Regions from separate parts of the Homo sapiens genome. Here region 1 is linked to region 2. Evidence: promoter capture Hi-C in human tissues and cell types (Jung and others, 2019). All regions are on one chromosome and are shown on one strand. The core of a region is centred on a gene start or on the middle of the fragment in contact, and the rest is flanking DNA. Distances in the headings are between cores, read along the strand shown.

Region 1 (6,797 bases), core at 2,400-4,899, 570 kb after region 2:
TAAATATTGGCACTCTGAGTTCTCTCTGAGATCAAGTCAGTGCTCTCTGAGATCTCCCTGGTAGTGTAATGTAGAAATATGCCTTCCTCAGTCATCTCACAGGTAATTCTTGCCTCAGGAGAGATGTTAAGTTCCAGAAACATCACAATTGCGACTTGTAATAAGAATGAGAGAGTTTCTCTAATTACAGTCTATTGTGCTCAGGCTGCTTCCACAGCCAATGACAATATATATTATTTTGTCCACAAGTGACAGGTTGCCCTTTGTCTCCTTTCTAATTCAAAATTTGACCAGAGGCCCAGAGCACATAAAAAATGAGCCCTAGCAAATACACTCATCCTTCCGTGGCCCTGGGGGATTGGTTCCAGGACCCCCATGGATACCAAAATCCACACATACTCAAGTCCTTTGTATAACACAGTGTAGTATTTACATATAACCTATGCACATCCTCTTGTATGTTTTAAATCATCTCTAGATTACTTATAATATCTAATACAATGTAAATGCTATCTACATAGTTATACTCTATTGTTTAGGGAATATTGACAAGAAAAAATGTCTGTATATTTTCAGTGCAGACAAAAATATTCATTTTTTAAAAATATTTTTAATACGTGCTTGGTTGAATTCATGGATGTGAAACTCATGAATACAGGGGAGCAACTGTAAAGCTTTTGCAAACTATAGAGCCATTCACTTTTTGGGGTCCTCCCTGTGGTCACACAAATACCTAGATCAGGCTTTGACCTAAGAGTTTTGCTGCAAAAGTGAATCAGAATTAAAGTAGTTTCATAATTTTTAAAGCAATTCCCAAGGCCTAGAGGATGGGATGCTGCAGAGGGCTGGGGAGTGTGTGTGTGTTTGTGTGTGGTGCTTGAGGGTGGTGTGAGGGAACGTGATGCTGCTCGTCACATGAGTTTAGATGAATGAGCCTGTGAAATGGAATTGGGTGACAAAATAATCCTCAGGGAAAGCCTGTTAGGTGGTTGGAGTTCTAATTATAAATGAAAGAGGTCAGACCTCATTATGATAAAAATGCAGTTTTAGCTTCATGATTTCAGCTAGTGCTTTTGATCCAGCTATTAAAAATCCTGCAAAGATTTTAAAGGCAATTTGGTTCATTTAATAGATTGTCTAGACCTGAGCTGACCAGCGGGGTGGCTTTGGGTCATTTAAAACGTGCTGTACATGTAAAAGTCCCAGTTGATTTTGAAGACTAATGAAAAATAAGAAAGCCAAATATTAAAAAATATAACATTTTGTACATATTGGGTTAAATAATATGCTATTATAGTTTTAACTGTTTATTTTTACTTTGATTTTCCTGTGGGGTTTTTTTTCAGTGAAAACCAAAAAACCTGTTAGAAATTCTAACACTAGTCCTTTAGAATTTAGAATTCTGAATTCTAAAAGAGTTGTAACGCTTCTTTTTAGTTTTCAAATGGAGCTACTACATTTAAAATTGCACAGTGACTTGGTTTTGTGGCTCACATTACATTTCTATTAGACAGCACTGGTCCAGAATCCATTTAGTTTTTGACATAAATTAGATCTTTGATAGTCTCAGATTTATTTTCATCCCCAAGGTTCATGACGTTTTGCATACTTCCTAACTGCAGTCTCAGAAGTGAGTCAATTGCAGCGGGTTAGGTGACACTAGCCTGCCTGCCAGCACTCTTGCCTCCAACTCTCTACAAGTTGTCTCCTACACATACCTCAGGTGAAGAGGGAATCATTTATTTCTTTGAGGAAAAGAAGACTCTTCCCTCCAACCAAGCTGATGTTCCAAACTATTTTTTTTTTACATTTGATTTGATTTTTTGAGACAGAGTTTTGCTCTTGTTGTCGCTCTGGAGAGCAACGGCGCAACCTCCACGTCCCAGGTTCGAGTGATTCTCATGCCTCAGCCTCCCAAGTAGCTGGGATTACAGGCATCTGCCACCTTGCGTGGCTAATTTTGTATTTTTAGTAGAGACGGGTTTCACCGTGTTGGCCAGGTTGGTCTCGAACTCCTGACCTCAGGTTATCCACCCGCCTTGGCCTCCCAAAGTGCTGGGATTACAGATGTGAGCCGCCATGTCTGGCCCAAACTATTTTTTTTAACCTAAACTGTAGGATATAGTAAGTAGCAAATTGTCAAATTTAGCAGAGCTTTTCATTATAATATCCATGAGTCTATCAACCATGCTATAAATAAATAGGTGACTTAAAGCCTTAAATGTCTTTCTGAATGCTCTGGCCAGAGCAGAAAATGGAGAGATGACTTCAGCAAATGCTGAATTGCAATTCGACTTTATTCTTAATGAGGCAGATAATTTGTAGTGTGATGAAATACACAGAAAATGCTATGTTCAGTGGACTCAGGAGAGACTTAATAGATAGAAAACTTCTTTTGCTCCTGGAAGCTAAAGGGAAGGAGAAGGGAGACAGAGGAGAGATAAAGGGAAAGACAAGAGGTATCAAAAGACTATATATTCAGGAGATTCTGTTCCAAGATGGCTGAATAGGAACAGCTCCAGTATGCAGCTCCCAGCATGATCGATGCAGAAGACGGGTGATTTCTGCATTTCCAACTGAGGTACCTGGTTCATCTCATTGGGATTTGCTGGACAGTGGATGCAGCCCACGGAGGGTGAGCTGAAGCAGGGCAGGGCATCGCCTCACCCGGGAAGCCCAAGGGGTTGGGGGATTTCCTTTTCCTGGCCAAGGGAAGTTTTCCACATAGCACCTGGAAAACTGGGACATTCCCACCCAAATACTGTGCTTTTCTAACGGTCTTAGCAAATGGCACACCAGATTATATCCTGCACCTGGCTCGGAGGATCCCAAGCCCACAGAGCCTTGCTTACTGCTAGCGCAGCAGTCTGAGATTGACCTGCGAGGCAGCAGCCTGGCAGGGAGAGGGGCATCTGCCATTACTGAGGCTTGAGTAGGTAAAAAAAAGTGGCCGGAGAAGTTCAAACTGGGCGGAGCCCACTGCAGCTTAGCAAGGCCAGCTGCCTCCGTAGTCTCCACCTCTGGGGGCGGGGCATAGCTGAACAAAAAGCAGCAGAAACTTCTGCAGACTTAAACATCCCAGTCTGACAGCTCTGAAGAGAACAGTGGTTCTCCCAGCACAGTGTTTGAGCTCAGAGAACGGACAGACTGCCTCCTCAAGTGGGTCCCTGACCCCCATGTAGCTTAACTGGGAGACATCTTCCCGTAGGGGCCAACTGATACCTCATACATGAGGGTGCCCCTCTGGGACAAAGCTTCCGGGGGAAGGATGAGGCAGCAATATTTGCTATTCTGCAATATTTGCTGTTCTTCAGTCTCCGCTGGTGATACCCAGGCAACCAGGGTCTGGGGTGGACCTCCAGCAAACTCCAACAGACCTGCAGTTGAGGGACCTGACTGTTACAAGGAAAACTAACAAACAGAAAGGAATAGCATCAACATCAACAAAAAGGACATCCACACCAAAACCCCATCTGTAGGTCACCAACATCAAAGACCAAAGGTAGATAAAACCACAAAGATGGGGATAAACCAGAGCAGAAAAGCTGAAAATTGTAAAAGCCAGAGAGCCTCTTCTCCTCCAAAGGATCACAGCTCCTTGCCAGCAATGGAACAAAGCTGGACGGAGAATGACTTTGATGAGCTGACAGAAGTCGGCTTCAGAAGGTTGGTAATAACAAACTTCTCCGAGCTAAAGGAGGATGTTCAAACCCATTGCAAGGAAGCTAAAAACCTTGAAAAAAGATTAGACAAATGGCTAACTAGAATAAACAGTGTAGAGAAGACCTTAAATGACCTGATGGAGCTGAAAACCACGGCACGAGAACTACGTGATGCATGTACAAGCTTCAATAGCCGATTTGAACAAGCAGAAGAAAGGGTATCAGTGATAGAAGATCAAATTAATGAAATAAAGCAACAAGAGAAGTTTAGAGAAAAAAAGTAAAAGGAAATGAACAAAGCCTCCAGGAAATATGAGACTATGTGAAAAGACCAAATCTACTTTTGATTGGTGTACCTGAAAGTGACGGGGAGAATGGAACCAAGTTGGAAAACACTCTTCAGGATATTATCCTGGAAAACTTCCTCAACCTAGCAAGGCAGGCCAACATTCAAATTCAGGAAATACAAAGAACAGCACAAAGATACTCCTTGAGAAGAGCAACACCAAGACACATAATTGTCAGATTCACTAAGGTTGAAATGAAGGAAAAATGTTAAGGGCAGCCAGAGAGAAAGGTCGGGTTACCCACAAAGGAAAGCCCATCAGACTAACAGTGGATCTCTCGGAAGAAAGTCTACAAGCCAGAAGAGAGTGGGGGCCAAGATTCAACATTCTTAAAGAAAAGAATTTTCAACCCAGAATTTCATATCCAGCCAAACTAAGCTTCATAAGTGAAGGAGAAATAAAATCCTTTACAGACAAGCAAATGCTGAGAGATTTTGTCACCACCAGGCCTGCCTTACAGGAGCTCCTGAAGGAAGCACTAAACATGGAAAGGAACAACTGGTACCAGCCACTGCAAAAACATGCCAAATTATAAAGACCATTGATGCTAGGAAGAAACTGCGTCAACTAATGGGCAAAATAAACAGCTAACATCATAATGACAGGATCAAATTCACAAACAATATTAACCTTAAATGTAAATGGGCTACATGCCCCAATTAAAAGACACATACCGTCAAATTGGATAAAGAGTCAAGGCCCATCAGTGTGCTGTATTCAGGAGACCCATCTGACCTGTAGAGACACACACAGTCTCAAAATAAAGGGATGGAGGAAGATCTACCAAGCAAATGGAAAGCAAAAAAAAAAAAAAAAAAAAGCAGGGGTTGTAATCCTAGTCTCTGATAAAACAGACTTTAAACCAACAAAGATCAAAAGAGACAAAGAAGGCCATTACATAATGGTAAAAGGATCAATTCACCAAGAAGAGCTAACTATCCTAAGTGTATATGCACCCAATACAGGAGCACCCAGATTCATAAAACAAGTCCTTAGAGACCTAGAAAGACACTTAGACTCCCACACAATAATAATGGGAGACTTTAACACCCCACTGTCAATATTAGACAGATCAATGAGACAGAAGGTTAACAAGGATATCCAGGTGAACTCAGCTCTGCACCAAGTAGACCTAATAGACATCTACACAACTCTCCACCCCAAATCAACAGAATATACATTCTTCTCAGCACCACATCGCACTTATTCTAAAATTGACCACATAGTTGGAAGTAAAGCACTCCTCAGCAAATGTAAAAGAACAGAAATCACAACAAACTCTCTCTCAGACTACAGTGCAATCAAATTAGAACTCAAGATTAATAAACCCACTCAAAACCACACAACTACATGGAAAGTGAACAACTGCTCCTGAATGACTACTGGGTACATAACGAAATGAAGTCAGACATAAAGATGTTCTTTGAAACTAATGAGAACAAAGACACAACATACCAGAATCTCTGGGACACATTTAGAGCAGTGTGTAGAGGGAAATTTATAGCACTAAATGCCCACAAGAGAAAGCAGGAAAGATCTAAAATTGACACCCTAACATCACAATTAAAGGAACTAGAGAAGCAAGAGCAAACACATTCAAAAGCTAGCAGAAGGCAAGAAATAACTAAGATCAGAGCAGAACTGAAGGAGATAGAGACACAAAAAATCCTTCAAAAAAATCAATGAATCCAGGAGCTGGTTTTTTGAAAAGATTAACAAAATAGATAGACCGCTAGCAAGATGAATAAAGAAGAAAAGAGAGAAGAATCAAATAGATGCAATAAAAAATGATAAAGGGGATATCACCACCAATCCCACAGAAATACAAACTACCATCAGAGAATACTATAAACACCTCTCTGCAAATAAACTAGAAAATCTAGAAGAAATGGATAAATTCCTCGACACATACACCCTCCCAAGACTAAACCAGGAAGAAGTTGAATCTCTGAATAGACCAATAACAGGCTCTGAAATTGAGGCAATAATTAATAGCCTACCACCAAAAAAAGTCCAGGACCAGATGGATTCACAGCCAAATTCTACCAGAGGTAGAAAGAGGAGCTGGTACCATTCCTTCTGAAACTAATCCAGTCAATAGAAAAAGAGGGAATCCTACCTAACTCATTTTATGAGGCCAGCGTCATCCTGATACCAAAGCCTGGCAGAGACACAACAAAAAAAGAGAATTTTAGACTACTATCCCTGATGAATATAGATGTGAAAATCCTCAAAAAAATACTGGCAAACTGAATCCAGCAGCACATCAAAAAGCTTATCCAACAAAATCAAGTTGGATTCATCCCTGGGATGCAAGGCTGGTTCAACATATGCAAATCAGTAAACATAATCCATCACATAAACAGAACCAAGACAAAAACTACATGACTATCTCAATAGATGCCGAAAAGGCTTTTGGCAAAATTTAACAGCACTTCAGCTAAAAACTCTCAATAAACTAGGTATTGATGGAACATATCTCAAAACAATAGGAGCTATTTATGACAAACCCACAGCCAATATCATACTGAATGGACAAAAACTGGAAGCATTCCCTTTGAAAACTGGCACAAGACAAGGATGCCTTCTCTCACCACTCCTACATAGTGTTGGAAGTTCTGGCCAGGGCAATCAGGCAAGAGAAAGAAATAAAGGGTACTTCTTTAGGAAAAGAGGAAGTCAAATTGTCCCTGTTTGCAGATGACATGATTGTATATATAGAAAACCCCATCATCTCAGCCCAAAATCTCCTTAAGCTGATAAGCAACTTCAGCAAAGTCTCAGGTAC
Region 2 (6,453 bases), core at 1,585-4,084:
AAGCTTATATTAAATGCTAATATCTTTGTTTTAAAAGTGAATATTTTAACTTAAGGATCTTAGTAACAAATTGACAATTTTCCAGAAAACAGCATTTCTTTAGCTCTCCCTTAAGGATGTAGACTAGGCCCCCATGCCTCACACGAGCTACTGAGGTAGTGACCCTGGCAATGAAGCCACAGAGATTGTATTTTTAAAATCAGTACAAGAATAGAGGATGTCAAGGATTGGGTTTCACTTGCTCTCAAGTGTTGGCATGTTGTGTGTGTGTGTACATACACACACATAGACACTGAACCTGATCGTAGACCTGGAGGAGAGTTTGAGATGGTTATCTCACTCTACCACTTGATGACAAGTGAGTAAGTAGCCTGAGACTAAGGCAAATTCAAGGACTCTCTCAAGGTCAGACAGGTAGTTTAACTTGCTCACTCGGTTACCCAGAGCAGGGCGATGCTAAGTTTCTTCACTTCTCCATGTCCCAGTGTGCCTGGCCCGTTTGAGATATTACACACATGCTTCCTGCTTAACAACCAGTCTCCTAAAAAAAAGTTCATATTGACATGGGAAGTCTAGCAAATGCTTGAGAGATGAACCATAATTACATTACTTGGATGTGACTTTTCTAAAATGCAAGATATGATTGTTTCCTGTGAAGATGTACATGGACAGAAACAGAATGAGATGCACTTGCTGTACTGTGGTCCACTTTCATGAAAATGGTACCATGTGACTCTAAAGTAGGCAGACTTTAAAACAAAGGAGTGGGCCAGGCACGGTGGCTCACGCCTGTAATCCCAGCACTTTGCGAGGCTAAGGCGGGTGGATCAGCTGAGGTCAGGAGTTCGAGACCAGCCTGACCAACATGGAGAAACCCAATCTCTACTAAAAATACAAAATTAGCTGGGCGTGGTGGCGCATGCTTGTAGTCCCAGCTACTCGGGAAGCTGAGGCAAGAGAATCGCTGGAGCCTGGGGGATGGAGGTTGCAGTGAGCTGAGATCGTGTGATTGCACCCCAGCCTAGGCAACAAGAGCTAAACCCCGCCTCAAAAAACAAACAAACAACAACAAAAAACCCCAACAAACAAACAAAAACAAAGGAGTAAAACACACCTAACCTACTACAAATATATGGATCCAAAAAAGTGCTGACCTCTATGAGAGGCGACACAATGTTGCAATGAATTGTTATTCATCTGAACACCTATCAGACACATTTTAGTTGCGGACAAAATGACCCATCTCTTTTATCCCTGTGCCACAACATTGCTGGAAGCCCACATCTGCAAATGGCAGGGAAGCAACTCTCATTCTACACCCCCCACCCCCTACAGCCAGGACTTCAACATCACTCAATTTTGGCCCTAACCAGTGTGACTAATGATAATTGGTCATTCTCTGGAACTGGCTTCAAACCACCCACTTCATTCACCACTTCATCCACCCCAGTCATTCTTTGGACTTGGCTCCAAACCATTTTTGCTTTATTGAAATAAAGCAAAATACAACAAATTCACCCTAAAAGAATGATGATTTGCTTGTCATTAGAGAAGAAGTAAGTTTTGGGTACAGGTGGCCTTGTTGGCATGACTATGGGGCCTCCTTCCTCTGAGCAGTTAGGGAGGTCTGAGCAAATTGCTCAAGTCGGGCTACTTGTTTTAAATTTAGGTCATTAGATTCACTTTACAGTTGTACCTCAGTTTTGCTGCATGAGAAGCAGTGGTATTTACATCTGCTTAGATTTTCTCCTTAGCTTCCTCATGGATTTAAAGTAAATGAATAAGGAGAGAGGCACCTAATTTCTACCTTGGTTAAAGGGAAGTGAAAGGACAGGCGTCCCGCTCTCCCCAAGACTGGGAATGTGGAGCCTGACCAACATTTCCTGCTGCTTTGCTTGTGATTTCAGGCAAGCACAAGGAAATTGCTGGGAGAAGACACATTTCTTCTTCTTCTTCTTCTTCTTTTTTTGAGATGGAGTTTTGCTCTTGTTGCCCAGGCTGGAGTTCAATGGCGTGATCTTGGCTCACCGCAACCTCTGCCTCTCGGGTTCAAGCGATTCTCCTGCCTCAGCCTCCCGAGTAGCTGCGACTTTAGGCATGCGCCACCACGCTGGGCTGATTTTGTATTTTTGGTAGAGACGGGGTTTCTCCATGTTGGTCAGGCTGGTCTTGAACTCCCGACCTCAGATGATCCACCCGCCTCAGCCTCCCAAAGTGCTGGGATTACAGGTATGAACCACAGCGCCCGGCCAAGAAGACACATTTCTAAACCCAACTCAGCCTTTTGTAGAGTCCAGTTTTCTTTCTACACTTGAGAGGGCCTCAGAAACCCAGAAATTTTGCGGGTATGTGTGTGTGTGTGTGTGTGTGTGTGTGTGTGTGTGTGTGTGTGTGTGTGTGTATGGTCCGTCCGCAGACTCTTCAAGAACTCGAATGCCATTCTCCCTCCTTCGGATGGACAGCGCCCCGCGTGCCCGCACACACCCGGTTCACTTACCTGAGGCATCTGCGGATCGTTGATGTCCCAGCTGAGCTGCATCCCGTAGGAGCACACGCCGACCGCTTCCTGCACCGCGGCCGCCGGCATCTGCCCAACTCGCTCGCGCTTTCCGCCCAGGGTTCTGAAAAATAGAAGAAAAAAGGACAGGTGCGCCAGGTGGGTTTTTTTTCTTCTCTTTAAAGAAGAAAGTGGGGTGTGTGAAGGGGAGGTGCAGAGAGAGAGAAAGAGAGAGAGGCTGTTTAGATATCTGGAAGCTGGGGACAATGGTTATGGACCCGGGCGGGGCCTTGTCCTTGGCCGCGGTGCTGAACGTTCTCCACCCGAACGGCAGCATCGACCTCTGGCAGCTGCCCCCTCCTTTATAAAGATATACCTCCGGGGGGCTCCGCCCTGTCTCGCCTACCTCGCTAGCGCCCACGCTCCAGGGGCCGGTCGCCCCCTCCACCACAGTCCCAGGAACGGAGGTGGAGGTTAAACTCAGCCCTGGAAGCAAATGGAAACTGCAGCCAGAGGGTGGGGGTGGAGAGGGTAAGTAGGAATGTATCCTTTAAGTTTAAAACCTTATTATTTTCTTCTTTTCTTTTCTTCTTTTTTGTCTCACTCTGTTGCCCAGGCTAGAGTGCAGTGGCGCCATCTCAGCTAACTGCAACCTCTGCCTCCCAGGTTCAAGCGATTCTCCTGCCTCAACCTCCCGAGTAGCTGGGAATACAGGTCCGTGCCACCACCCTGGCTAATTTTTGTATTTTTAGTAGAGACAGGTTTTAGCCATGCGAAACCCTGACCAAGCTGGTCTTGAACTCCTGACGATCTGCCCGCCTGGGCCTCCCAAAGTGCTGGGATTACAGGCGTGAGCAACCGCGACCGGCCTATTTTTTTTCTTTTTTCTAAACGCGTCCAGCTTCCCTGATTTCGGAAAGGGGCTTAGATGGAGGCTTTCCAGCAAAGTCCCCTGAGAGCCAACACTCAATTCCAGGAGAGCATGGGAACCGTGCGTGGGCCCCTCTGCCGTCCGCGTGCGCCCTAGCCTGAATAACCGCGCCCACGCCTCCTAGTTAGGGGTCAGCCCATTTTGGGCCTCCACTGCCGGCTCTTCCCCTAACTATTGTGAGTGTCTCGCAGTCTTGGCTCTGCTGTTTGGGACGTGCCAGGGTGCGCCAAGCCTCCGCGTATGCTCGCGAGCCCAGGCGCCTTCACGCTCCCGGGGACTTCGGAGGGACCTGGCCCTGCAGGAACGGAGTCCTACAAAGTGAACCTGGAGGAGGTGGGGGGCGGAAATGAGCCCGGGGTAGGTGGGAGCCTGGGGTAGGTGGGAGCCTGGGGAAGGAGGGAAAGGGGAGAGGGGAAAAGTCCCAAAGAACTCGCTTTCTCCACTGCTTTGGCTCCCTCTGGGTCTCAGCTTCCTTATCTGTTTATCTGTTAAATAAGAGGTTGTGGTTCGGCGAGCTCTCAGTTGCCACCCACCCGAACACAAATCTTTTTTTTTTTTTTTTTTTTTGAGACGGAGTCTCACTCTGTCTTCCCGGCTGGAGTGCAGTGGCGCAATCTCGGCTCACTGCAACCTCCGCCTCCCAGGTTCAAACGATTCTCCTGCCTCAGCCTCCCGAGTAGCTGGAACTACAGGCGCGCCATCGCGACCAGCTAATTTTGTATTGTTAGTAGAGACAGGGTTTTACCAAGTTGGCCAGGATGGTCTCGATTTTTTGACTTCGTGATCCTCCTGTCTCGGCCTCTCAAAGTGCTGGGATTAAAGGCGTGAGCCACCGCGCCCGGCCCACAACTCTTAAAAAAAAACTTCACTGATATAGTCTTGGAAATATCACGACGAAATTGAATTTACTCCATTACAGTCTTGGGAGGCTTTGGAGGACTAGAGAATCGCGGTGGTGCGGAGGTGCGCAGGACAATGTGGGTTCTCCGGGGCTGGGACGAAACCTTCATCATCTGAGCAGCCGACTCGCCCAGGGCTACTCCGGCACATGGAGACCCTCAGTATATATATATATAAAAAAAACAAAAAACAAAAAACAAACAAAACAAAACAAAACCGATTGAAGTGACTAAAGTCACTCTTTGACTACCCCAAGGCCGGATTCTTGGCGGCCAGGGGAAAGGGCTTCTGGAATTTATTGCCCGCGTCCTTGTTTTGCAGCTGCACGCTTCCATTCCCAGCCCCAGCCAGAGAAGAGGAGCCAACTCCTCACGGCAGATCCCTTGATAGAGGAGGATGAACCGAATCCATGACCCTCCAGACCCGGGAAGCGACGCACCCTAGGCCTTGGCACCGCAAAGCCCGTGCTGAGCGCACGGACGGGTGCTGCCCGGGACTCGGCCAGGAGGGCGCCCATGCCAACGCCTCTTGCAGGATTAGTGCCTTCGGTTGGCAAAAGGCGGATAAAGGAAGAGCGAAACCACATCAGGAAGCTAAGGGTGGTCCACGCTCCCTGTCCTTTTACTTCCCGCGCCAAAGGCACAGTGAGGCTTGCTTAGAAAAGTCCATCCCGCGATTGGGCGCAGTGGCTCATGCCTGTAATCCCAGCACTTTGGGAGGCCGAGACGGGAGGATCGCTTGAGCCCAGGAGTGCAAGACCAGACTGGGCAACATGGCGAAACCCTGTCTCTTCGAAAAAAAAAAAAAAAAAAAAAGCCGGGCATGGTGGCGTGTGCCTGTAGTCCCAGCTACTTGGGAGGCTGAGGCGGGAGGATCGCTTGAATCCAGGAGGCAGTGGTTGCAGTAACCTGAGATAGCGCCGAGCCTGGGCGACAGAACGAGACCCTGTCTCAAAAAAAAAAAAAAAAAAAAGGAAGGAAAGAAAGACAGAAAGAAAGAGAGAGAGAGAGAGGAAGGAAGCAAGGAAGGAGAAAGAAAAGAAAAAGAAAAAAAAAAGAAAAGGAAAGAAGAAAGAAAAAGTATCCCAGTCGGTCAGAGAAGCCTGCCAGTGGCAGCGGACCAGCGAACTCTGTTGGGAAGAAAGGCCAACTTCGAGCAGTTCCTCGCGATTTTTTCCTCCTTTATCTTCTAGCTGGGGTCCTCCTCCCAGTCAAAGCCGAAGGGTCCTAGCAGAAGAAAGTGATTTGTTCATTCCCAGCCTCCTTTCTCCCGAAGTTCTCCCCTCCTAAAAGGTCCTGTCAGTCAAGGTTTCTGATTAAAATCACTCTCAAATGGTCGCCACTGAGGTCTAGCTGGGAACGAAGAGATCTGTCTACTCTTCACCCACGAGTTTCATTCACAGATTTTTCATCTTATTAACTGTCTGCCAAAGGTCCCCGAAACTCCTGTTGATTCAGTTGCTTTTCGTGTTGTTTTGTCTTCCAAAATTGAATGAAAATTTATTGATTATCCATTTTAATTATAGTATTTCATTAAATGTTGTAGTCTAAGATAACTTATCCTTTCAAATGTTCTAAAAATAACTTTAAAATGGTGATTTAAAGTTACCTCTGAAAATGCATAGAAATTAATTTTTGGTCTTATTGCAGTGCTAGAATAGTTCTTGTCTCTGTGCTTTTGGAATGTTCCTAGAGAGACCTGACCCGTCAAAAACATAAATAAATAAAACTTTTTTATGTAAAAGGCAAATCAATTAATTTCTAAAGGGATTCTGGTATCCAAAGAAATGTCATAGAGCCTCTACTATATTTAGTTTGAGAAGAATTAGAGTATGCATTTCAAGTTGCCATAAATTATATTAAGACAAAACATGTTAGTAAAAGAAGCTAATCAAAGTAAAAAAAAAACCAGATAAAAGGTATTTTGCCTATTCTGTTATTTTTAATTTCTCTTAAAGATTTGAATGCATTGCACCATAGACTTTGGAAGGACATGTTTTCCCCCAAAGCCTGAAAATAATAGATGATTAAGTTTTCTATCTAATATTATGAAAACTCTAATTTTTAAATATTCTCTTAAAATTCATTTAAACTGTAGTATTTTGTTTATTGCTTCTTATTATTCA

Evidence for each region. The method cuts DNA at HindIII sites, captures the fragments that hold promoters and counts their contacts. A contact is called where the count stands out against the background at its distance.
Region 1: a contact is called between a fragment that was not itself captured here and the fragment with the promoter of GCM2 in region 2, in 1 of the 25 tissues and cell types used here (dorsolateral prefrontal cortex).

What each region holds. Positions count from the first base shown.
Region 1 is chr6:11,449,323-11,456,119 of GRCh38, forward strand. The region is part of intron 1 of LOC105374928 (a long non-coding RNA gene); the gene reads left to right. Among named protein-coding and RNA genes, the nearest start is that of TMEM170B, 85 kb to the right of the region's middle. The HindIII fragment of the contact is 3,371 bases long and covers 1,965-5,335 here.
Region 2 is chr6:10,879,207-10,885,659 of GRCh38, forward strand. GCM2 (glial cells missing transcription factor 2) reads right to left here and starts at 2,835. Exons shown (of 5, transcript NM_004752.4): 1 at 2,498-2,835. The coding sequence starts at 2,587. RefSeq lists a silencer at 2,730-3,024. The HindIII fragment of the contact is 12,545 bases long and covers 1-6,453 here.